Linked DNA regions of Homo sapiens: regions 1, 2 and 4 are each linked to region 3. Evidence: promoter capture Hi-C in 16 types of primary human blood cells and fetal thymus (Javierre and others, 2016). All regions are on one chromosome and are shown on one strand. Each heading gives the region's core, a stretch centred on a gene start or on the middle of the fragment in contact. The rest is flanking DNA. Distances are from core to core; before and after follow the strand shown. Region 1 has its middle 16 kb from the start of ATG5. Region 2 overlaps CRYBG1 (crystallin beta-gamma domain containing 1). Region 3 holds the start of BEND3 (BEN domain containing 3). Region 4 overlaps OSTM1 (osteoclastogenesis associated transmembrane protein 1).

Region 1 (3,197 bases), core at 28-2,527, 770 kb after region 3:
ATAGGTGAGAAGAATAAAGCTTAGGAAGGTTAAATAAATGTGGCTACAGGCGCATGCCACCACACCTGGCTAAATTTTTGTATTTTTAGTGGGGACAGGGTTTTGCCATGTTGGTCAGAGTGGTCTTGAACTCCTGACCTCAGGTGTTCCACCTCCCTTGGCCTCCCAAAGTACTGGGATTACAGGCATGAGCTGCCACGCCTGGTCAAAACATCCTGCTTTTTAAATGAAGTATCAGATTAAGACATGTAGGCAAAAAAGCAATGTAGCAGCAATGCATGAAGAATAGGTTTATCTGTTAATCCCTAAATAGCTGGTATTTGAGTATCAGGAACTACAGAGACATCTAGAGGGGAAGAGGAAAGGTCTGAAACCGTGGCCAAGAGACGCAAAGCTATGCACTGCCCCTCAGAACTTCATGATGGCAAAGAACAGTTTATTGTGTTGAACTTTTGTTTACACTGATGTGTATATATTAAAATAAGACGTATTTGTTAAAGTGTGGTGGTGGTCAGGAGAATACACTTCACAGATCTTTACTGAGTGAGAGTGATTGATTGAGGGCCCAGGGACTGAGCATGCTGGAGATTAGAGGGCAGTCCTATTCCATGGGACTCCTCTGACTGATGACTTTGGCTTGAGACATCTAAAAATTTCTTGTTGCACCTACCTTAGGCTAAACTGGCTTCTATCCACCTGCTCCTTTGCTCCACTGACAGCTGGCTTTCCCAGCCCCTCCTCTCTCCCTACATTTTCCTTTTCTTTTTCTTTTTCTTTTTTTTTTTTGAGACCAAGTCTTGCTCTGTTGCCCAAGCTGGAGTGCAATGGTGTGATCTTGGGTCATTGCAACCTCAGCCCCCCGGAGTTCAAGTGATTCTCCTGCCTCAGCCTCCTGAGTAGCTGGGATTACAGCATGTGCCGCCATGCCCGGCTAATTTTTGTATTTTTAGTAGAGGCAGGTTTTCACCATACTGGTCAGGCTGGTCTTGAACTCCTGACGTCAGTTGATCCGCCCGCCTCCACCTCCCAAAGTGCTGGGATTACAGGCTTGAGCCACAGAGCCTGGCCTTCTTTTTTTTTTTTTTTTTTCAGGGATGTCCCCATGTTCCCTGGGCCAGTCTCAAACTCCTGGGCTCAAGCGATCCTTCTGCCTCAGCCTCTCAAAGTGCTAGGATTACAGGCGTGAGCCACCATGCCTGACCCCCCTACATTTTCTATCACAGAGACTTCTCCTAGAGAAATATTTGTAAATTTAATCCTGTCCTGGAGTCTGCTTCTGGGAGGACCCAGACTAACATGAGTGATAAATGTCTTCTTAAGAAAATGCCTCCAGTCTAGACTGCTCCCTCAAACTCTAGATCTCTTTAGATGTTACCATAAAATTCCATAAGGATACTTTGCAGGTAATCCCCCACCTTTTTAATAGACTTAGTTTTTCTTTTTTCTTTTTTTTTTTTTTTTAGACTTAGTTTTTCTAGAGCATTCTTAGGGTCATAAGAAATTTGAATAGAAGGTACAGAGACTTCCCATATATCCTCTGCCCCCACACAGGTATAGCCCCCCACTAACAACATTGCCCACCAGAGTGACATTAACCAACTTTGAGCTCTAGGGAACACATGCTAAAAATTTTCTTCTTATCAGTTTTATAATTTCTTTGTATCATTAATATTAATACTTCAGCAAACAACAATGCTTAGAGACAGTGATTCATGGGCTAATTTTAGACAGTCCTCACTACATAAATAAGGCCTGTAGTTTACAACTGATGAACCTACATTTACACATCATTATCACACAGTGCCCATAGCTTACCATAGGGTTCACTCTTGATGTTGTACAGTCTAGGGGTTTGGATAACTTATAATGACATATATCCACCATTCTAGTGTCATGCAGAGTAGTTTCACTGCCCTAAGAGTCACTGGTGCTTTGCCTGTTCATCCCTCCCTCCCTTCAACCCCTGATTTTTTTTTTTTTTTGAGATGGAGTCTCACTGTGTTGCCCAGGCTGGAGTGCAGCCATGTGATCTCAGCTTACTGCAACCTCTGCCACCCAGATTCAAGTGATTCTCTGGCCTCAGCCTCCTATGTAGCTGGGATTACAGGTGCCCACCACCACACCCAGATAATTTTAGTATTTTTAGTAGAGACAGAGTTTTGCCACATTGGCCAGCCTGGTCTTGAACTCCCAACCTCAGGAGATCCAACAGCTTCAGCCTCCCAAAGTACTGGGATTACAGGCGTGAGCCACCACACAGGGCAATCACTTGTCTTTTAAGTGTCTTTATAGTTTTACCATTTCCAGAATGTTGTGTAGTTGGGACCATACAGTATGTAGCCTTTTTGGGCTGGCTTTTTTCACTTAGCAACATACATTTAAGTTTCATTAAATGTCTTTTCATGACTTGATGGCACATTTCTTTTTAGTGATGAATAATATTCTATTTGTCTGTATGTACCATAGTTTATCCGTTCACCCACTGAAGGATATCTTGGTTGCCTCCAAGTTTTGGTATTTGTGAATAAAGCTTCTACAAACATCCATATGGATAGAAGTTTTTGTATGAACACAAGTTTTCAACTCCTTTGTGTAAATACCAAGGAGCCCAATTGCAGGATCAGATGGGAAGATTGTGTTTAGTTTTGTAAGAAGCCACCAAATTGTGTTCCAAAGTGGCTGTACCATTTTGCATTCCCACCAGCAATGAATGAGACTTCCTGTTGCTCACATCCTTGCAGGCGTTTGGTGTTGCTAGTGGGTAATCTCGTTTTGGCATTGGTCTTGGTTAACAGCCTGAACACTAACACCTCAGCCGCCCTCACAAACTCACCCAATCAGTCACTAAAGTCCTTGATTATTCCTCTTGAACATTTCTTCTTTCCACCCTCTTCTTCATCCCACTGCCTTGCCTTTGTCATCATTTCCCAGTTGACTGTGGTAGTTTTTCAATTGCTCCCATTGCCTCCAGAGACATCGCCAGTCAAAACACACTTTATGTTAGCTGGGTGTGCTGGTTTGGGCCTGTAGTCACAGCTATCTGGGACAGTCCTAACTACATAAATAAGGCCTGTAGGTTACAATCGATGAACCTGCATTTACACATCTATCATGCAGTGTCCATAGCTTACTACAGGGTTCATTCTTGGTGTCGTACAGTCTAGGGGTTTGGATAAATTTCTAATGACATGTATCTA
Region 2 (3,354 bases), core at 321-2,820, 730 kb after region 3:
AGAGGAGATGGATGCAGAGCACACACGTTTCTCTTATACACAGAAGTGAGATGGTTTTCTAAAGGTAGATCACTGGCCAGAGTTTTTGTTATGAGAGCTGTTTCAGGGATTTCTTTTAGAAAAATAGTCACCACTGGCAGCACATTTCAGTGACACAGAATCAGTGGCAAAACTTGCTTACTTGTGTGACATATTCAACCTGCTCAATGAACTCAATCTGTCACTTCATGGGAGAATGACAACTATGTTCAAGTCGGCAGATAAAGTGGCTGCATTCAAAGCCAAACTGGAATTATGGGAGTGATGAGTGAACATTGGGATTTCTGACATGTTTCAAACATTAGCAGAGATTTTGAAAGAGACTGCACCCCAAACACAAAAGACACCTGAACTGGGAAGAATGTATCTGTGACCCATTTGTGAATAAGCCAGGTGAATTGATGTTGTCTGAGTTAGAAGAGGATCACCTGCTTGAGATCACAAATTAGGGTGGCCTTAAAAGTATGTTTTACTTTTAAAACATACTTAACATACTTAAAAGTATGAGAAAACTTCAAATCTCCATACATTCTGGATGGAATCAAGCCAGAATATTCTGAGATTGCCACAAAAGCACTGAGAAGCATGCTTCCATTTCCAACATCCTATCTTTGTGAAGCAGGGTTTTCTTCAGTGACTGCAAGCAAAATGAGATTACGGAGTAGACTGGACATAAACAACGCAATTCGAGTGTCACTCTCTCCCATCACCCCCAGATGAGACCATCTAGGTGCAAGAAAACATGCTTAGGGCTCCCACTGATTCTACATTATGGTGAGTTGTATAACTATTTCATTATATATTACAATGTAGTAATAAGAGAGACAAAGTGCACAATAAGTGTAATGCACTTAAATCATCCTGAAACCATCCCCGTCCCCGTCTTCCCCCGGTCTATGGAAAAATCATCTTCCATGAAACTGGTCCCTGGTGCCAAAAAGGTTGGGGACCACTGCTCTAAAGAACAGGGCCTCAGTTACCGATGGGAAGTCCCCAGAAAGCCAGTAGGTCAAAGAGGAGTCTCTGTAGCCTTGTTTTGGGTCACAGTTTAAACTCATGCTATTTTCCATCCTAAACAAAGGTGACACTGACCTCACACCATCAGCAGTAAGTGCTCTGCAAGCTGCTCCTCAATAGAGGTGATGTGCTGTGCTGAGTTCACACCTGCTGTCACCTGGTACCTGCATGGCCAACACTACACATCTGCAGGAAGACTTGCTTTGTTAGAAATGCAGTTTATGAACAAGGAAGCTTCTTTTTTTCTCTCTGTGCAAAGCTGACTGGCCACACACAGGGTTGAGAACCACAATTATAACTTCCCTAGCCCCATGTACTAATCTCAAAAACTCACCAGCCCAGATAGTCATCAACGATGTGGTTCTAAGTAGTGTATTCACATTGGAACACTTAGGAGATTGCATATGAAAAACTGCAGGAGGAAGTTATCTATTGCAAACTTGCCAAATATGAGCAATAGATGTGGAAATAAAGAACTGATCAGAGGAAAAACATGTGTGACATATCATATGATACATTCATATGGGAGCCTTGTTAGCGATCTGTTCATACCAGCACTTTTTGTCTGTTTTGTTTCACAGTCTTTCAGGAACTAAAGTCCAGCCTTTCAAAACTATAAACTATTCTATTATTCTAGTCTGTGTAAATTTCATTTACACATTTACATTTATGAAAGGATTGAGACTTAATACATCTGCTGTATTTGATTCTATAGTAAAAGATTACTTATCATCACTTAAGCAAAGGATAAGTTTGGGACATGCATTTATGAACATTAAACTAGAGAAAGCTTGGTTCTGGCCCCAGCTTTGCCACTGAATAGCCTGGTGCCCTTGGCAAGTCCCTTTTGGGATTTCAGTTTCCTAATCCCAACTGGGCTAGATCCTTGGTTCTCAAACTTTAACGACTACTTATGGAGGTTAAGATGCAGACCTCAGATCTGTCAAATTTGAATTTCTAGAGGAACAGAAATCTGCTTTTTACACCTGAGTGATTTTGATTTGGATATTTAACACATTTTGAGAAATACTAGATGAGGTAATATCTTCATATACTTTTAAAAAAATCTTTAAAATTCTGGTTCCATGACTAGTTCAAGTTGAACTCACTACCTCCATTCTGGAAAAAGCTACCTCAAGAGTCTTTCTGCCCACTTGATTACTTACTTGCCTTTTGTGGATATAGAGACACACACAAAAAATTGCAGGATTTCCCATTAGCCCTACTTAGATATCAATAATTTTGTAGTAAGCAGATTACTTAATAATAATAAAGTCATGATGTTCTAATTACAATTGTCTTTTGCAATGTGTCTAACTCAAGGACAATGATTCATCAGGTAATGTTATAGTTAATCACAATTTTTTATAATAATCACAAGTGTATGGATTATCATCCAAAGCTAGCTTTTGCATGCCAATAGCACAGAAACTATTTCCAAACACTTGGCTTTTGATTCTGGCATAAATATTAAAAATAAAATCAAAATTATTACAAAAATATGAAAGAAAATTATAATTCTAACAGAGATTACATTCTTTTCCATTGTATAAAGAGCAATTGGTAGAAAATTTGATTTTTATTATTTTTATTTTATTCTTGGCCTTCCAAAGTGCTGGTATTACAGGCATGAGCCACCATGCTTGGCCAAAAAATTCATTTTTAGAAGCCAACTTTACCTAGAAAGCAATAGGGAGTTTTCACAAAACTGGTGACACTGAAGGAACAAAAATTTCAAAGTCCAGATGTTTCAAAATCTTTCAGGAATGATGCTAATAACTGGTTTGATTTCCCATAAAACCTAATAAAAATTTCTGTATCTCCTAATATTCTTTTACAACATACCAGAGAATTTCTTTCTCTATCAAAAGAAGAATTTCCACAAAATAAATCAGATTCCCCGTGTAGTTTTGCCCTTTGCATCAACAAAGTCCTCATGGATACTACTCCCCTTAAAGTGCTATGTCCTAGATGTAGCCAGCAATTAGGCCCTGCAATTTTGACTACTGACCACACGTGTACTGTCAACATGTTTTTTGCAATGCCCATGGCTGGCCTCCCAAATCTAAGGCTATTAAGAGCTCAGAAGCCTGCCCCTCCCTGGCTGTTGCATGCCTTTGTTTAGAGGTAGACAGGAAACTGACACAGCTGAGGAGGACTGTTCATTGCTTCCTGGTGTACTGCTTCAGTGTCTCTTAGAGGTGTTTCCTTCTAGAAGTGAGTGCATATCTATCTTCCCTTGGTGCACCATAGTCTAGCAGTTTAGATGTACTCTGGCTGTACCCCTGTAACTAGATT
Region 3 (3,298 bases), core at 663-3,162:
TGACAGAAATCTTTTGTTTCAAGCAATATGAACAGAGAAATGTTAATTTCTATCTCTATTGTCTTATTATTTAATTTCTCCTTAAAAACCTGAGTTGTCACTGTGAAAGATTGGTTAAATATATATCCCCTCACTACACACGTTTCATCTAGTCCTCTTTCCAAAAATTTAACAAGGTCGTTTTACATTCTTAAAGCACCACAGCAAAGTGATTTAAATGCAAAATGTGCTTAAGTGCTACTTAACTATTCCTAACTCTTCTACTGGGAAATCCTAGAAAACTGAACTAATGAAATGCAACTTCTACTTTAAAAATTCTAATTATAACTGTCACATTAAATTGAAGGTGAGAATAAAACTGGTGTATCTGTTAACTAAGTCAAGCGATGTACTGTGTCGTACGTGTTATTTAATGTGCAAGTGTAAAAGTCAAGTTCTCTGCAGAAATCGAAGTGCCTCCCCTCAGTCTTCTGCGAATGTATAAATTAACCATTCTCCCCCAAGCAGTCCTCCTCCCTTCCTCCCTCCGCCCTATTTTAAATGTAGATAGGGCGACCTAAGTCTTTTGAATTTGAAGGGCTGCTATCTCGGCCCCATTCTTTTCATCATCCTGTTTTCAATGACACTGAGCACGTATAGATTCTTCTATAAAAGCACCCCCTGGATGCAGGGCTTGGTTCTTCAGGCTGCTTGCTTAATTTTGCATAGCAATTAGTACTGACTTCACTAAACCAGTAATCCAAATACAGCTCGAGAATGTTCCACGTAGTTCCTCAAACTTAACCCTGTGCCTTTTGATTTCAAGCCCGAAGGGGGGGAACTTGCATAATTACTAAATTCCCAATTGGAGTGGTCTGAAGGAGGGTACGGTAAACCCAAACTATACGTTAATTCAAACCCTCGCCGCGACTGGGCAGCAAGGAGCCAACATATGCCTTCTTTTAAAAATCTATTCTACCTATTCACTGACCGCGCAGGGCCGTGCCACATGGTCCTCCCTTGCAGCCAGTCAGCTGTGAGCAGCAGATGGGATCATTTGCATTTTTCTTTTTATACTTTCTTTGATCGGCAAATTAAAGGATTTTTCTTAAATTTACATTCTCATTGTTTGCCTAAAATACAAACGTGGCTAAACTGTTGAATTGGGCTTCCCTGACTCTCACCCAGCACCTCCCCCTCCCCCTACCCAGCCACTGAGACTTGAGAAAATACCCGAGGGGTAGATTTCGTATTTATCAACTGGGAATCTACAGTCCAAGAGTTAGGAGTAGACAGAATCAGCCTTTATTGAGTTGGTGACTCGTGTTTTTCTATTTTAGGCGCTCGGCGCAGACAGCCCGTGGGTTTGTGTTTGTGGGGTGTGTGTCTGTGAGCGCGGGCGCTTCCGAAGCTCTCGCTCCGCAGCCTCACACCCCAGAACTTCGGGTTGCAAGAGCAGATTTTAGCTCTGAGGCTCACAACAGAGGGCGGCCACCGTGCAGGGGGAGTGGCCAGAGCCAGCTTTTCCCAGCGCCAGGGTCGCTCTCCCGGGTCCCGCCGGACTCCATGCCGCCCCGCGGGGCCGCAGGAGCCACCCGGGCCCTCGCGCCCCAAGGTCTTTGTGCCGGTGGCGGCGCGGGAAGACCGGCCCCGGGGGCCTGGGCTGCGGCCCAAAGGCCAAAAATGCGGGAGAGGCGTGGGCGCGAGGCGGGACAAGCTCCGCACAGTCGCCGTCCCGCAAGGGGCAAAAAAGTAGAAAAAGCCGTTTGGGGCCAAACTCTCGGGTCTGAGAAACCACGTTTCCGAGGACGAACTCGCGGTGGGAGGACACATGGGGTACAGGGGACATTGTTCGCGGCGCCTGCCCGGCGCGCCGTGGGTGCGCGGCCGCCGCCCCCGCCCCGGGCAGCCAGCGCGGGCCCACGTGGAGCCACTGCGCTGGCCGAGCGCGCCGGGCCGCCTGGGTCCCGGGAGTGCGCGCCCGAGCTCCCCGCCGCGGCCGTTCACGCCCGAGCGCCGCCGCCGCCGGTCCCGCGTGTGCCCCGCTGAGGGGGAGGGGCGGGCCGGGGGTGGGGGCGGAGGGGTTGTGGTTCCACTGCAGCGGGGGCTCCTGTGTCCTTGTGCGGAAATGACACACGGAGTCCCGTCACGTCACGCGAGAGCGCAGCGCACGGACACACACAAAGAGAGGGGAAAATACACGGCGCTCGCCCGCCCGCCGCCCCCAGCGCCTCCCCGGGCCGCCCTGGCCAGGCCCTCCGCGCGCGGCCCCCACTCCCCGGCCCCGCGCCCTCCCCCCCACGTGGCGCCCAAACTCGGCGCGGGCCCGCCCGGCAAAGTACAGAACTCGCGTCCCAGGTAAGTGCGGGGCGGATCAAGCCGGCCGCGCGGCGGCGGCAGCGTTGGCGGCTCCGGGGCGAGCGGCCGGTAGAGTGGCTGCAACATCCATGCCGGGGTGGGGGCGGGAGCAGGGGAGGGGACGCGGAGGGGGGCTGCTCCGAGCGCGCCCGCCGGTAGTAGCGCCCACCCCCGCGCGGGCCGAGCGACCGGAGCGGGCGCCGGGCGCCCACGGGCTCGCCGCGCCCATTGTGCTGCGCGCCCCTTTGTGCCCGCTCGGAACGCGGCGGCTCCATGGCGTTCTGGGGAGCACGCGCGCCGCGCGGGGGCGGGGGGTTCGCGCGGTGGAACCGTCCGCGCCGCCGCCGCCGCCCGCCCCACTCGCGCCGCGCGCCGGCCCCGCACCCCCGCCGGGCGCCGCGATGGAGCGGCCGGGGCGGCCGGAAGGCTCTGCCGTACTCGCGGCGGCTTGGCGCTCGCGCTCGGCGGGGCTTTGGCGGGGCACTGCTCGGCGTGTGGAAGGGGGTGTCGGAGCGGGAGCAGGGGGCGGGGACTGGAGGGAGATGCCGGGCGGCGAGCGGGAGGCCGGGGGAGCAGCCGCTCGGAGGAACGAAGCCTCCGGAGGCTGCAAATGGAGCGAGGCCGGCCCGCGGCGGCGGCGGCCGGGAGCGGAGAGGGATGGGCCCCGCCGCCAGGGGGCGCAGCGCTCCCTTCCCGGCCGTTCCACGGCGGTTCGCGGTTCCCGCTGCCCAGGAGCTGGAGGCGGGCCCGGCGCCTTGGGTGTGCACCCGGGCTGGCGCGAGGCCTGGCCGGCCGGCCGCAAAGCTGAAGCCTGGGGCGCTCGCCGCTCCTCGTGAGCGCTCCTTTCCTTCTCTATGATAAACGTGATTTCCCACGCATGCTTTGCCCTTGCCTCATCCGTGAGCTGTGCACCACCGATTTGGAGGCCCTTGTGTGCTTGTTTACCTACGTCTCCCTATGT
Region 4 (3,210 bases), core at 23-2,522, 940 kb before region 3:
TTACTTGAAGCCCCCACGTCAGTATTTTAGGCAAAATTCTCACCAGTTTGTTTCTCTGGGCTCCCAACTCGTGATGGATTAGAAAGAGCGAATTTTAAAAGTTACCCCATTAGGTACAATAAATGACTCATTAGTGAAGTTGGAAGATGCAGAGAACTATGAAATTTGACACAAAAAATGATAAGGCATATGAGTTTCGGTAAAATTAATGCAGGGTAAACAGTCTTATGCCTAAATAGCACTGTTAAGGCAGCATTTGATAGCTGATATTCCGTGATTATGACCTTGTGCCATCAAAAGTCCATTTGAATTTTATTTGGTATATTTTTATGAAAAGAGAGTATGTGATTATTTTAACATGTTCATGAAAATGGTTATGACTTTTTTAACTTTTGGAAAATAAAAGGAGTAAGCTTCATATATTTGGAAAATTCATGCTTGTTTGAATAAAGAATTACTGTAGTGTGAAACGAAGCTGATAGCTTAAGATATAAATGACAACATAGAATTGTTCCTTGAGTTATATTAATATACTTTTTGAATTTTTTTGACAGATTGTTTAACAAACAACAGTGAAGAATTATCAAACAGCACAGTATATTTCCTTAATCTATTTAATCACACCCTGACCTGCTTTGAACATAACCTTCAGGTATTTTATATATAATATTTAAAATTAAAATGCTGCCTTGTACAAAGGAATAATGTGCAGTTCCAAGTTTTTAGAGCACTAATTATTGATATTTATCTAAATTCATGATGTAAAGGAGTTAGTGGACCTGGATTTCTGCTCTTAAGTAAGTTCTTCTACTTACAAATCATGAAAACCTCAGTTCTCTCATTGTAAAATGGAGATAATATCTATCCTGCCTATCTTAAAGTATTTTGTAATGAGAATCTGGTGAGATAATGATTGTGAAAACATTGATTGAGGTGTGTGATTGTTTAATTAAAACACAATGGTTTTCAATCTGACTTACGTAGGTATTTTGCAGTGTAGTATGATTCTGTCTATAGGAAGTTTATTCTTTGCCTGAAATTTGCTTAAGTATGTTTTACCTACCTTAAAAAGCACTGTTTAGTAAGATAACTTTGAGTATTGAATTATGATAATAAAAGGTAGCTTTAAGAATCTTAACCTTGTAGATTATTGCCATCTCTATCTCTGACTCTTGAATTTTGGTATTGGAACTTGCCCGGTCGTGGTGAAGGACGAGGTTGGAACTCTGGTTAAAATGTAGTTTTGAAACTTACATAACAAGTAAGTAATCCCCATAGTAGATGTACACATGCTTAGGGTATAAGCATGTATGATTTCTTCTGTAATAAATGTGGTAACACTGAATTATGAATTTCCTTGAGAATAATAAAAATTGGGCCAGGTGCAGTATCTCATGCCTATAATCCCAGCACCTTGGGAGGCCAAGGCAGGCAGGTCACTTGAGGTCAGGAGTTCGAGATCAACCTGGCCAATATGGTGAAACCCTGTCTCTACTAAAAATACAAAACTTAGCCAGGCTTGGTGGTGCACGCCTGTAGTGAAGTAGAGGTTGCAGTGAGTTGAGATCGTGCCATTGCACTCCAGCCTGGGCGTTGCAGAGAGACTCTGTCTCAAAAAAATAAAATAAAAAAAATTAGGTGAACATTTCTCAGAATTTGTTCTGCAGCATGTTAATAGATGTCCTATCAGAAAGGGTTTAGTATTCCATTAAGGTTGGGAAATGCTTTACTACAGGACTTCAGAGCCTTTAGTGGACTGATGTGTGTTGTAACACTCAAATAGCAATTTTTCTATAAAGTCATCCCTTTTATATATGGCTTCACTTTCCACAGTTTCAGTTACCTGTGGCCAACTGCAGTCCAAAAATATTAAATGGAAAATTCTGGAAATAATAAGTTTTAAATTGTACACCATAAACAGTCTTCTTTTCATTTAACTTAGAGTACTTGTATGAGTTTGGTAGATTTCTAGAAGTAGAATTACTATATTGGCAGCCTAAGAAAAAGACACTAGAGAAAATTATCTCCAAATATGATGAGTTTATTAGGGAATAAGAAAGAAGTATGGTAATTTGGAATGCACTGGCAAACCACCAGTACATCCAGTGAGGGAAGGGTAAAGGGAAGCTTTTATTAGCAAAAAGGGAGAGGTTCACACAAGCTGCTTGGAAACTGAGTTCATTGGTTCCTGAGGCTCAAAGCCAAGTTGTCAGTTCATTGGTGGCGATGCCATTACTGGGCAAGTGTTCTTTTGAGTGCATCTTATCTGAATTACTGCAGTCCTAAAGAATGGCAGTGATAAACCATGTGAAAGCAGGAGTTGCAATGAAGGGCGTGAAAGGATTTCTTGTGGGGTTTTTAGAAAGTCTTTGGAAACAAGGACTCTTTTTGTCTCTATTTTGTCTTGGTCTGTCAAAAGGTGATTTCATCCTAATGTCTGCAACTTTCACATTATTAAAAGATATGTGCATTTTAAATTTGAATAAAAATTGTGGCCAGGTATGGTGGCACCTGCCTGTAATCCCAGCACTTTGGAAGGTTGAGGTGGGAGGATCATTTGAGCCCAGGAGTTAGAAATTAGCCTGGGCAAAATAGCAAGACCGTGTCTCAAAAAAAAAAAAAAAAAAAAAGGTTAAATTACTCCCCATCTAGATTATGTGCACAATTTTAGTTAAATGGATTATGTGCTCAATTTTTTTTTTTTTTTTTGAGACGGAGTCTCGCTCTGTCACCCGGGCTAGAGTGCAGTGGCGCGATCTCGGCTCACTGCAAGCTCCGCCTCCCGGGTTCACGCCATTCTCCTGCCTCAGCCTCCCAAGTAGCTGGGACTACAGGTGCCCGCCACCACGCCCGGCTAAGTTTTGTATTTTTAGTAGAGATGGGGTTTCACCGTGTTAGCCAGGATGGTCTCGATCTCCTGACCTTGTGATCCGCCCACCTCGGCCTCCCAAAGTGCTGGGTTTACAGGTGTGAACCATCGCGCCCAGCCCTGTGCTCAATTTTTAACTAAGTGCACAATTGTTCTGTGAAAAACAAGCAATGGGCTATTTCTTGTAGCAGACTAAGGAGAGACTTAGTTTTTCTGTCAAGCAGATGGTGAGGGTAACATTGTTGGGCCAACATCAGTGTAATTACTTTGATTTTTCTCTTTTCTCTTTCATCCCAATGTTCAGTTAATATTCTTTCTTCATACTACAAAGTAAAGAATAA

The links. Contacts are between HindIII fragments. The CHiCAGO score rates a contact against its expected background, and 5 or more counts as called.
Region 1: a contact is called between a fragment that was not itself captured here and the fragment with the promoter of BEND3 in region 3, in 1 of 17 cell types (total B cells). The highest score is 6.1, in total B cells.
Region 2: a fragment that was not itself captured here is called in contact with the fragment with the promoter of BEND3 in region 3 in 1 of 17 cell types (M0 macrophages); the score reaches 5.2 in M0 macrophages.
Region 4: a fragment that was not itself captured here is called in contact with the fragment with the promoter of BEND3 in region 3 in 1 of 17 cell types (naive CD8 T cells); the score reaches 7.5 in naive CD8 T cells.

What each region holds. Positions count from the first base shown.
Region 1 is chr6:106,340,643-106,343,839 of GRCh38, reverse strand. No RefSeq gene overlaps it. Among named protein-coding and RNA genes, the nearest start is that of ATG5, 16 kb to the right of the region's middle. The HindIII fragment of the contact is 2,511 bases long and covers 22-2,532 here.
Region 2 is chr6:106,381,902-106,385,255 of GRCh38, reverse strand. The region is part of intron 1 of CRYBG1 (crystallin beta-gamma domain containing 1); the gene reads right to left. Among named protein-coding and RNA genes, the nearest start is that of CRYBG1, 23 kb to the right of the region's middle. The HindIII fragment of the contact is 556 bases long and covers 1,293-1,848 here.
Region 3 is chr6:107,114,129-107,117,426 of GRCh38, reverse strand. BEND3 (BEN domain containing 3) reads left to right here and starts at 1,912. Exons shown (of 4, transcript NM_001367314.1): 1 at 1,912-2,337. RefSeq lists enhancers at 1-662, 663-1,426 and silencers at 2,019-2,068, 2,109-2,158, 2,289-3,198. The HindIII fragment of the contact is 6,658 bases long and covers 1-3,298 here.
Region 4 is chr6:108,051,932-108,055,141 of GRCh38, reverse strand. It overlaps OSTM1 (osteoclastogenesis associated transmembrane protein 1), which reads left to right. Exons shown (of 6, transcript NM_014028.4): 3 at 555-652. Among named protein-coding and RNA genes, the nearest start is that of OSTM1, 21 kb to the left of the region's middle. The HindIII fragment of the contact is 1,714 bases long and covers 416-2,129 here.